Linked DNA regions of Homo sapiens: regions 2, 3, 4 and 5 are each linked to region 1. The links are contacts of gene promoters, found by promoter capture Hi-C in blood cells and fetal thymus (Javierre and others, 2016). All regions are on one chromosome and are shown on one strand. The core of a region is centred on a gene start or on the middle of the fragment in contact, and the rest is flanking DNA. Distances in the headings are between cores, read along the strand shown.

What was found. The method cuts DNA at HindIII sites, captures the fragments that hold promoters and counts their contacts. A CHiCAGO score of 5 or more calls a contact.
Region 2: a contact is called between a fragment that was not itself captured here and the fragment with the promoter of SPCS3 in region 1, in 1 of 17 cell types (monocytes). The highest score is 5.1, in monocytes.
Region 3: a fragment that was not itself captured here is called in contact with the fragment with the promoter of SPCS3 in region 1 in 5 of 17 cell types (monocytes, total B cells, naive B cells and 2 more); the score reaches 12.0 in monocytes.
Region 4: a contact is called between a fragment that was not itself captured here and the fragment with the promoter of SPCS3 in region 1, in 1 of 17 cell types (total B cells). The highest score is 5.4, in total B cells.
Region 5: a fragment that was not itself captured here is called in contact with the fragment with the promoter of SPCS3 in region 1 in 1 of 17 cell types (monocytes); the score reaches 5.5 in monocytes.

Annotation. Positions count from the first base shown.
Region 1 is chr4:176,318,686-176,321,232 of GRCh38, reverse strand. It overlaps SPCS3 (signal peptidase complex subunit 3), which reads right to left and starts at 1,267. Exons shown (of 5, transcript NM_021928.4): 1 at 1,014-1,267. The coding sequence starts at 1,156. SPCS3-AS1 (SPCS3 antisense RNA 1) reads left to right here and starts at 723. Exons shown (of 4, transcript NR_186171.1): 1 at 723-1,088. RefSeq lists silencers at 554-633, 664-733, 854-973 and an enhancer at 956-1,456. The HindIII fragment of the contact is 6,231 bases long and covers 1-2,328 here.
Region 2 is chr4:175,922,629-175,925,175 of GRCh38, reverse strand. The region is part of intron 3 of LOC107984113 (a long non-coding RNA gene); the gene reads left to right. It also overlaps a transcript of GPM6A not described here. Among named protein-coding and RNA genes, the nearest start is that of GPM6A, 110 kb to the right of the region's middle. The HindIII fragment of the contact is 2,103 bases long and covers 227-2,329 here.
Region 3 is chr4:175,946,360-175,948,906 of GRCh38, reverse strand. It overlaps LOC107984113 (a long non-coding RNA gene), which reads left to right. Exons shown (of 4, transcript XR_001741924.3): 3 at 1,209-1,262. It also overlaps a transcript of GPM6A not described here. Among named protein-coding and RNA genes, the nearest start is that of WDR17, 120 kb to the left of the region's middle. The HindIII fragment of the contact is 6,999 bases long and covers 1-2,547 here.
Region 4 is chr4:175,967,691-175,970,237 of GRCh38, reverse strand. It overlaps a transcript of GPM6A not described here. Among named protein-coding and RNA genes, the nearest start is that of WDR17, 97 kb to the left of the region's middle. The HindIII fragment of the contact is 3,233 bases long and covers 1-2,547 here.
Region 5 is chr4:176,038,447-176,040,993 of GRCh38, reverse strand. No RefSeq gene overlaps it. Among named protein-coding and RNA genes, the nearest start is that of WDR17, 26 kb to the left of the region's middle. The HindIII fragment of the contact is 5,754 bases long and covers 1-2,547 here.

The DNA of each region.
Region 1 (2,547 bases), core at 18-2,517:
GTCCACCCCAGGTCTATTCGAACAATATCTAACAAACATCAGTACAGTAATTTAAAAAAAAAAAAAAAAGGTGGGGGGAGAAGGCTCGCTATTTGATAACTGGCTTCTTGGCGATTCTGACAAAGAAATAAACTAAGGTTAAAGAACTTGTGTAAGACGGAAATAGAGTAGAAGGGTATGAGAACAAGAGATGGAAAAATACGACGATTAAAGACAAAAGTGCCAGAGAATAAAATCAAGGACAAAATAGGCAATAGCGAAATGGCACTGTCATTTCGAACTGCATTTTTTGGCGTTTTCGCAGACTTCTTCAAGTGGTTGGCAAAAGAAAAAGAAATAAAGAAACCCAACAAAACAAAAATCTCGCTGTATCAGAAGGCTAAGATGCTTAATTCTCTCAGTGCCCAACATCTCTGGCCAACTTCAAAGCAGCTCCAACTGTTTACTGCCTTCTGAAGGTGCAAAGGCAACAACTGTAAAGGGAATGTCAAACAGGGCAAACTCGGGTGATGAATGACACAAAGACAACCCCGTCCTGTGGCCTCCAGAGCCGCCAGGAAACCCCACGGAAGCCCGACCCAGAGCGCGGCGGCAGCGCCTGGAGGGCCTCGCATGCGGACCACGAGCGGCACCGGACGCGCGGGAGGCGCCAGCCCAGGCGGGCGGCGGCGCCGGCTCTGCTGTTGTGTTGCTCCCTCATTGGCCAGGCGTGGGTGGAGGGAAGTGAGGAACAGGAAGCAAGCGGAGGCACCGACCTGAGGAACGCTCAAAATTAAAATTTAAGAGCAAGCCCGGGAATTTACGGTGGAGGGGTGCAAGTTCCGAGGGGACGCCGGAAAAGCCTGCGACGTCCACCCCTGACGACCGCCCTCGGGGGCGAACTGCCGCTCAGGAGGGCGATCCGGACGCCCTGCCCGCGGCCCCGGCACGGCAGCCCCGGCGCGGCGGCCCGGCTTCGGCTTCCGCCCCAGCCCGGTCCCGGCGTCCTGCACCGCCGGCCCGGCCTCACTCACAGCATGATCCGCGAGACGTGCAGCCGCACCGGGACGCTCCTGTCTTTGAAGGCGGTGGTGATGAAGCAGCCGAAGGTGAGCGCCGCCATCACGCTCAGCGAGAAGGCGAACAGTGAGTTCGCCCGCGACAGCACCGTGTTCATCGCGATCGTCTCCCACGAGTCCGGACTCCACACGCACACCCAGGCTCCCGTTCCGGCGGCGGACCGGCTCCCTGCGATCCGCGCCGTCTGCGGTGCGCGCGTTCCGGGAGCGCGCGCCGCCGCAGCCCCGCCTCCTTTCCGGTCCTCCGACGCGAGCGCGCGCGCGCCCGCTTCCCGAAACACACCCACAGCGCGCACGGGGCGGCGCGGAAAGGGAGAGACTCAGCCGCGGGCCCGCCCCTCCGTCGCGGCCTAACGCCGCCACCAATCAGCGACGAGTGAGGGAGGGGCGGGGTTTGTTGTGGAAGACCCACCCCCTCCTCTTCTAAATTGCTTCTCCGACCTTTGGGTTCAGAGAATTGGGAACCGGTCGTTCGCTGTCCTTTTTCGGTTCTTTGGTCAGAGGTCTGGGACTGCGACTTCTTGATTACTTATGTACCATTTATTTTCACTTGAAACCGGCAGCAAGTTAAGGTGGTTTAGAATCTGTCCTGACGGGTGGCGTTTGGAAGCAGCACTTTACAAAACGCCTGGTCCTCTCCCTTCTTTGTCAAACCTGGTCAAAGTTAGGACTTGAGCTTTTTTTGGAGGATCTGAGGAGCAGTGGGGAGTGGGGAATTAGCCGCCCAAGTCCTTAAAGCTGTCACGTGCATCAGTATTTCCACCTCCAACGTCAGTCCAATTCCTATTAATGCTTTGCTTTGTATGGATAGCTAAAGATGTTTTAGAAGATAAGGGTTGAGGCTACCGATCCTAAGTATTTGCATTTTAACATGGTGATTTCTGATAAATAAAAGGATAACCTTTCTGGGTTCTTAGGAGCAAAGAAGATAATGGCTGCGGAATTGCTCTACAGCATAATGTATAAGAATTTCGTTGGGTCATTAATAAATAATGCAATTATTTTATCACATTTTCAATATCCTGAAGGGCATTAGGGTTCAAACCGAGCCAATCCTGACTCTGATTATACTATCTGCCAAAACCTTTGTTCCTTTCACAGCTAAGGGTTTTTATAAAAATGGATTCAGGGTCTGCTGAAATAAATTTTTTTTAAAAATTTCAGTCCATAAACCAAACAAAAATATCTGTCCTGGAATGTGATCAGGAACAAACCAGAAAACTGTGAACATCTGATCTTGATACTGGCTTATGTTGTCTCTTGTTAAGCTTTTGCTTCTTTGCATTATTCATGACCATTCAATTAATTTTTGTATAGCCATACAGGTAGGATTATTACCAAGTGCCTACCGTGTACCAGGAATAGTTCTAAGCCTTGAGAATACAGCACTAATAAGGCAGACTCCCTGCTCAAATAGAGCCAACTAATGAAAAATCGATAAAATAGAGACTAAAGAGAGATCCTTAGTTGCGTTTAAAATCTTAGTTTT
Region 2 (2,547 bases), core at 29-2,528, 400 kb after region 1:
ATAACTGCCAGACTTTTAAAAAGTTGCTGATTCTTCCTCAGTGGTTGTGTGTTTCTGATTTTCATGTGATCAGGTATAGTAATTATTATGATCCCTGGTTGACAAACACTTTGAAAACTTACATATTCATTATTAATTTCTCTCAGATGATAAATGGAAGTGTGGTATTAATATTTTCATTAAACATGAACTTAAGAACTAATGTTCTTTACAAAATTAAAAAGCTTTCCCAAAATAAATTGTATAAATAATTGTAGATTTGCACCACACAATAAATGACAAAACCACTGTAGCACAAGTATTTCAGACTTCTCTCTTTTTTTTTTTTTTTTTTTTGAGACAGATTTTCACTCTGTTGCCTAGGCTGGAGTGCAGTAGTGTTATCTCCACTCACTGCAAACTCTGCCTCCTAGGTTCAAGTGATTCTCCTGCCTCAGCCTCCCAAGTAGCTGGAATTACAGGCGTGGGTCACCATGACTGACTAATTTTTGTATTTTTAGTAGAGACGGGGTTTTGCCATTTTGGCCAGGCTGGTCTCGAACCCCTGACCTCAGGTGATCCGTGTGCCTCGGCCTCCCAAAGTACTGGGATTACAGGCTTGAGCCATCCCACTTGGCCTCAGGCTTCTCTTGATTCGTTCTCAGGCAGAAGCACTCAGCCTTGATTTCCCTCATATATTTCATATACACCTCACCTATCCTTTCCCATATTCCTTACTTATCTCTCTGACTAGTGGCCTGTCTGCTGTGTTCCTTTCGCAGTCTTTAGCAAGGGCCACAGCACCTTTGGGGGTTACAATGTGTGGTCGGAATGGCAGGAGCATCAAAGCATTCTCTCACTGCCACTTTGGTCTGTTCCTAGAAAATGGTGTCCGGTGTAATTCTTTTTGTCTTTAATTATACTGCCTGCTGTTTCTGTAAGGTGATTTGAGTAATATTTCATTTGGCGAACGTCAGCAATAAAGACAGGTCACTGCTAACCTTTAGATTTAAGCATGTGTTAAAATGAGAGCTCTAATTGTTGCATAAGATTCCCACACGCTACTAATATGGTCGTGTCAGAAACAGGAAGCAGGAAGTAGAAAGTAGAGAGCTACCAAATGCATCTTTGCTTATTTGAGTGCAACTATTAATAATGATTATTTATTTGAAAGGAAATACCTAGGACAAATACTCGAATAGGACTATTCTAGGCAAACCTAGATGATCCCAGGCAAATCAGGAATGATGACCATTTTTACTCTTCATGCTTGTTGTCTTATGATATCAAGATGGCTGAGGCAATGCCAGCCATGAGGACTTGATTCAAAAGCAGAAAGATGAGATTGGGCATGATGGCTCACAGCTGTAATCCCAGCACTTTGGGAGGCTGAGGCAGGAGGATCTCTTGAGCTCAGGAGTTGGATACCAGCCTGAGCAACATGATGAGACCCTGTGTCTACAAAAAATACAAAAATTAGCTGGGCATGGTGGTGCATGCCTGTGGTCTCAGCTACTTGGGAGGCTGAGGTGGGAGGATGACTTGAGCATGGGAGGCAGAGGCTGCAGTGAGCCAAGCTCACGCCACTGCACTCCAGCCTGGGCAAGAGAGCCCGATCTTGTCTTAAAAACAAACAAACAACAACAAAAAAACACAAAGCAACAAAAAAAACCCCAAAACTGCAGGAAGGTGAGCATGGAGTATTGGAGGCTTGGAACCTTCCCCTCCATCACCGACTTCTGCTCACACTTCATCTGCTGATGAGGCAGGTATATGCTTGCCTCTCACTATTCAATGTGTGTTACTTTCCCAGGTATCTCGTAGCCAGAACTTGAACTCTAAATTCAATGTGCTCATACACATTCCCATGGCTCTCTACCTTTGCAGTAAAATATTCTTCTAAAGAAAAAACACTCTCAAGTTGTTAATCTTTTCACTTGTATGTTGTGTATATATATATATATATATATATATATATATAAATCATGTTATGAAATGTCAGGGACTATAAAGATTGTCTTTGACAAAGTTTGTAATAACTGTTTAACCTATACCTTAGCAAAGATTCAGCATTTATATTTTCTAGAAAAAGATTTATAAATCAATTTTTATATGAATAATATAGTATCTACATATGAAGTCATGTTATTATGATATCCTAGACAAATAACAAGCGTGGATTATATTTTAGTTACCAGTACAGATAAAAATGAGCTACAAGATGTACTGATTAAATTATAGGGCAATTGTAGTGGGCAATGATGTGTTTCTGTTTATAACTGCTAATACAGTATCTCTTTTCATCAGTTAATGAAATGAAGAAAAGATAGGAAAAGAAAAGTTGAAAGCTTTTTCATATTCAATTAAATTTTATGTTAGGTAGATTTAAAATTACCAGTAGCTAGAGATTTTTGCTTTAGAGTTTGTCAGAGTTTTATAATGTAAGTGTTACTGTAAGCCCCAAATAAACTCATCTTTTTCCAGACTTTGACTTCATTCCACTAGAAGGGAAATCAAATGAGCTAGTTTCATCTATGTAGAGATGTTCAAATTGGGCTTCTTGAATTG
Region 3 (2,547 bases), core at 18-2,517, 370 kb after region 1:
TCAGGAAATTATTGCTTGTTTTCAAGGATCTATGGCATTTTAATGATTGTTCTTTGCTCAATCTAGTAACAATTGATAGTAAGTTAGTATTAACATTGTTATTTTACTGCGTAGGGGCATGAGTCCATAGCATAACTTTGTGGCCAGTGTTTCAGGATTCCTGCAGAAGGAAAAGACAGAATCACAATTATAATTCTTCTCACTTCCAGTTAGCATTTTCTGATTTCTTATGTGGTTGTATTAACCCATATGATATATTTGTGTTTTTGAGTTACGATAATGAATTATATAAAGTTTGATGGATTGATCATAATTTTAGAGTTCAAATATTCAAAAGTCAAACAATGTAAAGGAGGTAGAATCAGATGTGGCATCTTAGTTTGGACTGCTGTAACACAATACAATAGACTGTGGGGCTTAATCAACAAACCTTTATTTCTCAGAGTTCTGGATGCTGGGGGTCCAAAACCAGGGTGTGAGCATGGTCAGGTTCTCAGCGAGGGCCCTCCTCCCGGCCCACAGATGGCCATCTTCTCATTGTATTCTTCTATGAAGGAAAGAAAAATCATTTCTCTCATGTCTTTTCTTATGGAAACTAATTCTATTTATGAGAGCTCCACCCTCATGACCTAATTACCTCCCAAAGGTCTCACCTCTTAATACCATCACTTTGAGGGTTAGGATTTCAACATGTGAACTTTCAGGGGGACACATCCTGTCTATAACATGAGGGTATCATAATATTGGAGCAAAAAATCACAAAAACATGTCCTCTCTGTAGCACTTATTAAGCTGCAAGTATTATCTTCAGGTGTCCTCTGCATTTACTAACTCTGAAATGGGATGTGTTTGGAAAACACATTGCTATTGCTATTGCTATTGCTATTGCTAGGTGCTATGTTGGCATATAGTGTTGCATAGAAAAAAAGTAGGGCTTTGTTCCTTCATTCATCTTTTTATTCATATATGAATGCATGCATACATTCACTAATTATCAAGTGCCTACTGTGTTCTAGGTATTTTACTAAAAAATCTAGAATATGATGAGGAAATTGAGAACACAATATTTTCATATTTTCTTTGAAAAAAGTAGTGAGGAGACAACATAGTGTACTTGAAAAATATACTCAGCCCTCAGTAGTAATATTGATTGTGCAATTAAAATGTCGGGTGTCTTTGGTTAAATTATTTGTGTTTTTTTATTTTAGCTGAGTGATCATAGTTCCTGCTCTATTAGCCATTCATCTGGAGAAACAAATGAGGTAATGAATGCAAGAACATTTGCAGAATACGTATTACAACACAAATGCTCATTATTATCAGGAATAACTTGAAAATGCATGTGGGATTTATGATGTGCTTTTATAATATTTTATCTTGAAGACATCATTATTTTTGAGTTCTTCAGACTTAAGAAATATTATTCTTAAGAATATTACACTTAATAAATATTATTCTTAAGAATGTTAGACTTAAATATTATTCTTAAGAATATTAGACTTAAGAAATATTATACTTAATATTGTACTTAAGAAATATTATTAAGATAGTGTCTTTAAATGACTTTCTTCAGTCGAAGTTTTCCCTCTAGTGGTTGCTGTGGAAATCACAGGAAGATTTTCTAATGCTAAATGTTCAAATGGAAAATAAACACATAAGAATTGAAAAACGAATAGCCAGAATTATTGAGGAAATTCGAGCTAGTGTTTTTTTTTTTTTAAAGACTCTGTAGTTAGATTTTAAAATTATATAACAGCACTCAGTTTCTGAAAATTAGAAAGAAAATTATTTGGTCCTTTTATGGCATCAAATGGATTTTAATGAAGATGATGATTAATATATCTAGGCTTGAAGAAAGCAATAAGAAAGCCACACACACTTCATTTCATCCTATAAATGAAGCATTTTCAAATGCAGGCTCTTAAATGATTTTGCTTTCTTTTTTGATCTGGCTTCCAGTACAGCAGTAATCTCCAGTTTTGGCTTCCTCTCAGGAAGTTGAGCAGAAGTTGTGCGTGAATAAGCATATTTTGGTTTTTCTTAAAGGCACCTTTCTTATAAATCACTCCCCAAATCAGAAACACTGAAATGTGATGGTAGGATAAAGGCATTTTAAAAATCCAAGCCCCAGAATGCTCTACCAGGCCCCAATTGTCTGTCCTCTGCCCACCTCTGTAGCCTGGCATCGTCCTGCCCTGCCCTTGCCCACAGTGCTTGGGCTGCTGCCATCTTTATCCCTCGGACACTCCACAGCTGTGCTTGCGGTTCCCTGTTCTTGACATGCTCTGCCTCACATCGCTGGCTTCTATGGACCACCTGCCTCAAAAACGTCTTCCCTGACCCACCTAGAAAAGTAGGCTTTGACAGTTCATCTTCATCACATCACCCATTTATTCACTCCAGAACTCTTACCATCATCTAAATAGTGTAATTTATTTTCTACTAGTTTTTGTCTGTCTCCCTTAGAAGAATGGAAGCTACATGACACAGAGATTTATGCATCTTTTCATGATTGTGACCCAGACCCTAGAACAGTGCTTCACACAA
Region 4 (2,547 bases), core at 18-2,517, 350 kb after region 1:
TTCTGTTTAAAAGCCAAAAAATCAGATTTCCGGTGAAAACAAACTTGTTTATTGAGAGGTGGCAAAGTGCAAGGGCAAAATAGTTTTATTTCCAGATAATTTGCCAAATATTTTTCAGTAGGAGAAGTTTTCTTTGATGAAAAATGTTTTTAGAAAGGAGAAAGGAAGGACACAGTGGAATATTTCGGCGTCATTGTGTTTTAAGGAACAATAATATCTGAAAGTAATTGCTGAATTGGTCCTGAAAGTAAAAGTAGTTAAATTGCTTTATTTTTGTGCTTAATAATTACTCATTTTCAAAAGATGATTGTATGCCTTTTGGTGGGTTTTAAAAAATTAATAGACATTATTTTTAGAGCCATTTTAGATTAATAGAAAATTGAGTTGAAAGTACATAGAGTTCTATTTACCCTGCATCCCTCCACACACACTTTCCGGTATTACTAATATTTTGCCCTGTTGCGATACATTTGTTGTAACTGATCAGTCAATGTTGATATATTGTTGTTGTTATTATTCTTATTATTTGAGCAGAGTTTTGCTTTGTTGCCCTGGCTGGAGTGCAGTGGCATGATCTCTGCTCACTACAACCTTTGCCTCCCGGGTTCAAGAGATTCTCCTGCCTCAGCCTCCCAAGTAGCTGGGATTACAAGTGCCCACCACCACGCCCAGATAATTTTTTCTTTTTTTCAGTAGAGAGGGGCTTTCACCATGTTGGCCAGGCTGGCTTCGAACTCCTGACCTCAAATGATCTTCTCGCTTCAGCTTCCCAAAGTGCTGGGATTACAGGCATGAGCCACCTTGCCTGACCTGATATATTACTATTAATGTCCATAGTTTACATTTGGGGTCAATCAATCGTGTTGCACATTCTTTGAGTTTTGACAAATGTATGATGATACCTATCTACTATTAGAGTATTGTACAGAATAGTCTCACTGCCCTAAGAATCCCCTGTGCTCTGCCTTCTCTCCCTCCTTGTACTAGACCTCTGCCACCACTGATCACTTTATTGTCTCTATAGACATTTTGTCTTTTCCAAAATGTCATATAGTTGCAGTCATATAGTACATAGCCTTTTCAATTAGCTTCTTTTACCTAATAATATGTATTTAAGATTCCTTATCTTTTCATGGCTTGATAGCTCATTACTTTTTATTGTTGTAAAACATTACATTGCATGGAAGTGCTACAATTTATCTATTCGCCTAGTGAAGGATATATTGGTTGTTTCCAAGTTATTTGCAATTATGAATGAAACTGCCATAAATATCCATAAATTTTGTGTAGTCTAAAGTTTTTAATTCATGTAGGTAAATACCTAGAATCATATGCCAAATGTATTTTTAGTTTTATAAAATACTGCCAAACTGTTTTCTAAAATGGCTGTACCATTTTGCATCTCTACCAGCCCATCAATGAATGAGAACTCCTATTTCTCTACATCCTTGCCAGCATCTGATATTGTCAGTGTTTTGGATTTTTGCCATTCTCACAAGTGTGTAAACGTATCTTATTCTTTTATCCTTCAGTTGTTTAAATGACATATGATGTGGAGTATTTTTTCATATGATAATCTATAATCTCTATGTCATCTTTGGTGAGATGTTAGGTCAGATTTATTGTCCGTTTTTTAATTGGGTTATCTGTTCTATTACTGTAGATATTTAAGAAATCTTGATATATTTTGGATGCCAGTCATTAATCAAATATGTGTTTTGCAAAGATTTTTCTCCCAGCTGGTGGCCTGTCTTTTAATTCTCTTTACAGCATCTTTTGCCAAGCAGCAATGATTAATTTTAATGAAGTCCATCTTATCAATATTTTCTTTCATGAGTCATATGTTTGGTAATCTGTCTAAAAATTCATCACTAAACCTAAAATCACTTACATTTTTCTCCTATGTCATCCCCTAAGATATTTACAGTTTTGTGGTTTACATTTAGGTCTATGATGTCCTTTGTGTTTATTTCTGTGAAAGCTATAATAACTCCTTCTGTATTCGTTCTTTTTTTGCCTATGGATGTCTACTTGTTCCAGCATCTTTGGTTTAAAAGGCTGTTTTTTTTTTCATTGAGTTGCTTTTGCTCCTTTGCCAAAGATCAATTGACTGTGTTTGTGTAGTTCTATTACTACGCTCTCGATTCCGTTCCATTGATTTATTTGTCTATTCTTTTGCCAGTATTACGCTGTTTTGATTGCTATAACTTTGTGGTAAGTCTTAAAGTCAGGTGATATCAGTCCTCCAACTTTGTTCTTCTCCTTCAACATCGTGCTGTTGATGTTGTATTTTTTCTGTTTCTTTCCATATAAAATTTAGAATCAATTTATTGATAACTTGAAAATAATTGGCTGAGATTTAGATTGGGATTACATTGCAACTATAGATCTAATTGGGAAGAACTGACATCTTGACAATATTGACTCTTTCTATCCATGTACATGGGGTACCTCCATTTATGTAGATCTTGTCTGACTTCATTAATCAGAATGTTGTAGTTTTTCATATAGTTCTTGTGTATATTTTGTTAGATTTATACCTAGGTA
Region 5 (2,547 bases), core at 14-2,513, 280 kb after region 1:
GAATCCCTGAACAGATAAAAAATTATCTCCAAAATTGTATCAGTAATAAACAGCCTACCAACAACAACAACAAAAAGCCCAGGACCAGACAGATTCACAGTTGAATTCTACCAGATGTACAAAAAAGAGCTGGCATAATTCCTGCTAAAGCTATTTCAAAAAATTTGGGAGAAGGGACTCCTCTTAACTCATTCTATGAGGCCAGCATCATCCTGATACCAAAACTTGGCAGAGACACAACAAAAAAGAAAATGTCACGCCAATATCCTGGATTAACATCAATGCAAAAATACTCAACAAAACATGGGCAAACCCAATCCAGCAGCACATCAAAAAGCATATCTACCACCCTCAAATAGACATTATCCCTGGGATGTAAGTTTGGTTCCACATAAATCAATAAATGTGATTCATCACATAAGCAGAACTAAAGATACAAAATCACATGATTATCTCAATAGATGCAAAAAAGGCTTTCAACGAAATTCAACACCCCTTCATGTTAAAAATTTTCAATAAACTAGGTATTAAAGGAGCATACTTCAAAATAATAAGAGCCATCTATGAAAAAACCACAGCCAACATCATACTGAATGGACAAAAGCTGGAAGCATTCCCCTTAAAAACCAGCACAATACAAGGATGCCCTCTCTCACTACTCCTATTCAACATAGTATTGTAAGTCCTGGCTAGAGCAATCAGGCAAGAGAAAGAAATAAAGGGCATCCAAATAGGAAGAGAGGAAGTCAAACTAACCCTATTTTCTGGTGACACGATCTTATATCTAGAAAACTCCATAGTCTTGGCCCAAAAGCTCTTTAAGCTGATAAACAACTTTAGCAACATCTCAGGATACAAAATTAATGTACAAAACCTGCTAGCATTCCTATACACCAAGAATAGTCAAGCTGAGAGCCAAATCAGGAATGCAATCCCATTTACAATTGCCACAAAAGGAAAAAATACCTAGGAATACAGCTAAACAGATGGGGGTGAAATATCTCTGCAATGAGAACTACAAAACACTGCCCAAATAAATCAGAGATGACAGAAACAAATGGAAAAACATTTCATGCTCATGGATAGAGAGAGAAAACATTGTTAAAATGGCCATACTGCCTAAAGCAATTTATAGATTCAATGCTATTCCTATCAAACTACCAATGATAGTTCACTAAAAGCTAGACAAAAAAAAAAAAAAAAATCATATGGAACCAACAAAGAGCTCAAATAGCCAAAGCAAGCCTAAGCAAAAAGAAGAAGCTGGAGGATCATGCCACCTGAATTCAAACTATATCACAGGGCTACAGTAATCAAAACAGCATGGTACTTGTATAAAAACAGACACATAGACATATAGACCAATGGAACAGAATAGAGAGCCCATAAATAAGGCTGCACACTTACAACTCTCTGATCCTTGACAAAGTCAATACAAACAAGCAATGGGGAAAGGACTCCCTACTCAATAAGTAGTACTGGGATAACTGGCTAGCCATATGCAAAAGATTGAAATTGGACTCCTTCTTTACACCATTTAAACAAATTAACTCATGATGGATTAAAGACTTACATGTAAAACCCAAAACTGTGAACATCCTGGAAGACAACCTAGGCAATACCATTCTGGACATAGGAATGGGCAAAGATTTCATGATGAAGATGCTAACAGCAATTGCCATAAAAGCGAAAATTGACAACTGGGATCTAATTAAACTAAAGAGCTTCTCCCCAGCAACAAAACACAACAAACAAACAAAACAACTATCAACAGGGTAAACAGACAACCTACAGAATGGGAGAAAATTTTTGCAAACTATGCATTTGACAAAGGTCCAGCATCTATTAATATAGGAAACTTAAACAAATTTACAAGAAAAAAATTAACAACCTCATTAAAAAGTGGCCAAAGGACATGAACAGACGCTTTTCAAAAAGAGACATACATGTGGCCAACAGTCATATGAAGAAAAGCTAAATAACACTGAATATTAGAGAAATGCAAATTAAAACCACAATGAGATACTATCTCACACGAGTCAGAATGGCTATTACTAAAACGTCAAAAAATAACAGGTGCTGGCGAGGTTGTGGAGAAAAAGGAATGAATATACACTGTTGGCGGAAGTGTAAATTAGTTTGCCCACTGTGGAAGACAGTACAGCAATTCCTCAAACACCTAAAACAGAACTACCATTCAACCCAGCAATTCCCTTACTGGGAATATACCCAAAAGAATATAAATTGTTCAACCATAAAGGTACATGAATGCCTATGTTCATTGCAGCACTATTCCCAATAGCAAAGACACAGACTCAACCTAAATGCCCATCAATGATAGACTGGATTAATAAAATGTATTACATATACACCATGGAATACTATGCAGCCAGAAAAAAGGAATGATATCATGTCCTTTGCAGGAACATAGATGGAGCTGGAGGCCATTATCCTTAGCAAACTAATGCAGGAACAGAAAACCAATTACCACATGTTCTCACTTATAAGTGGGAGCTAAATGATAAGAACACATGAACACATAGAGGA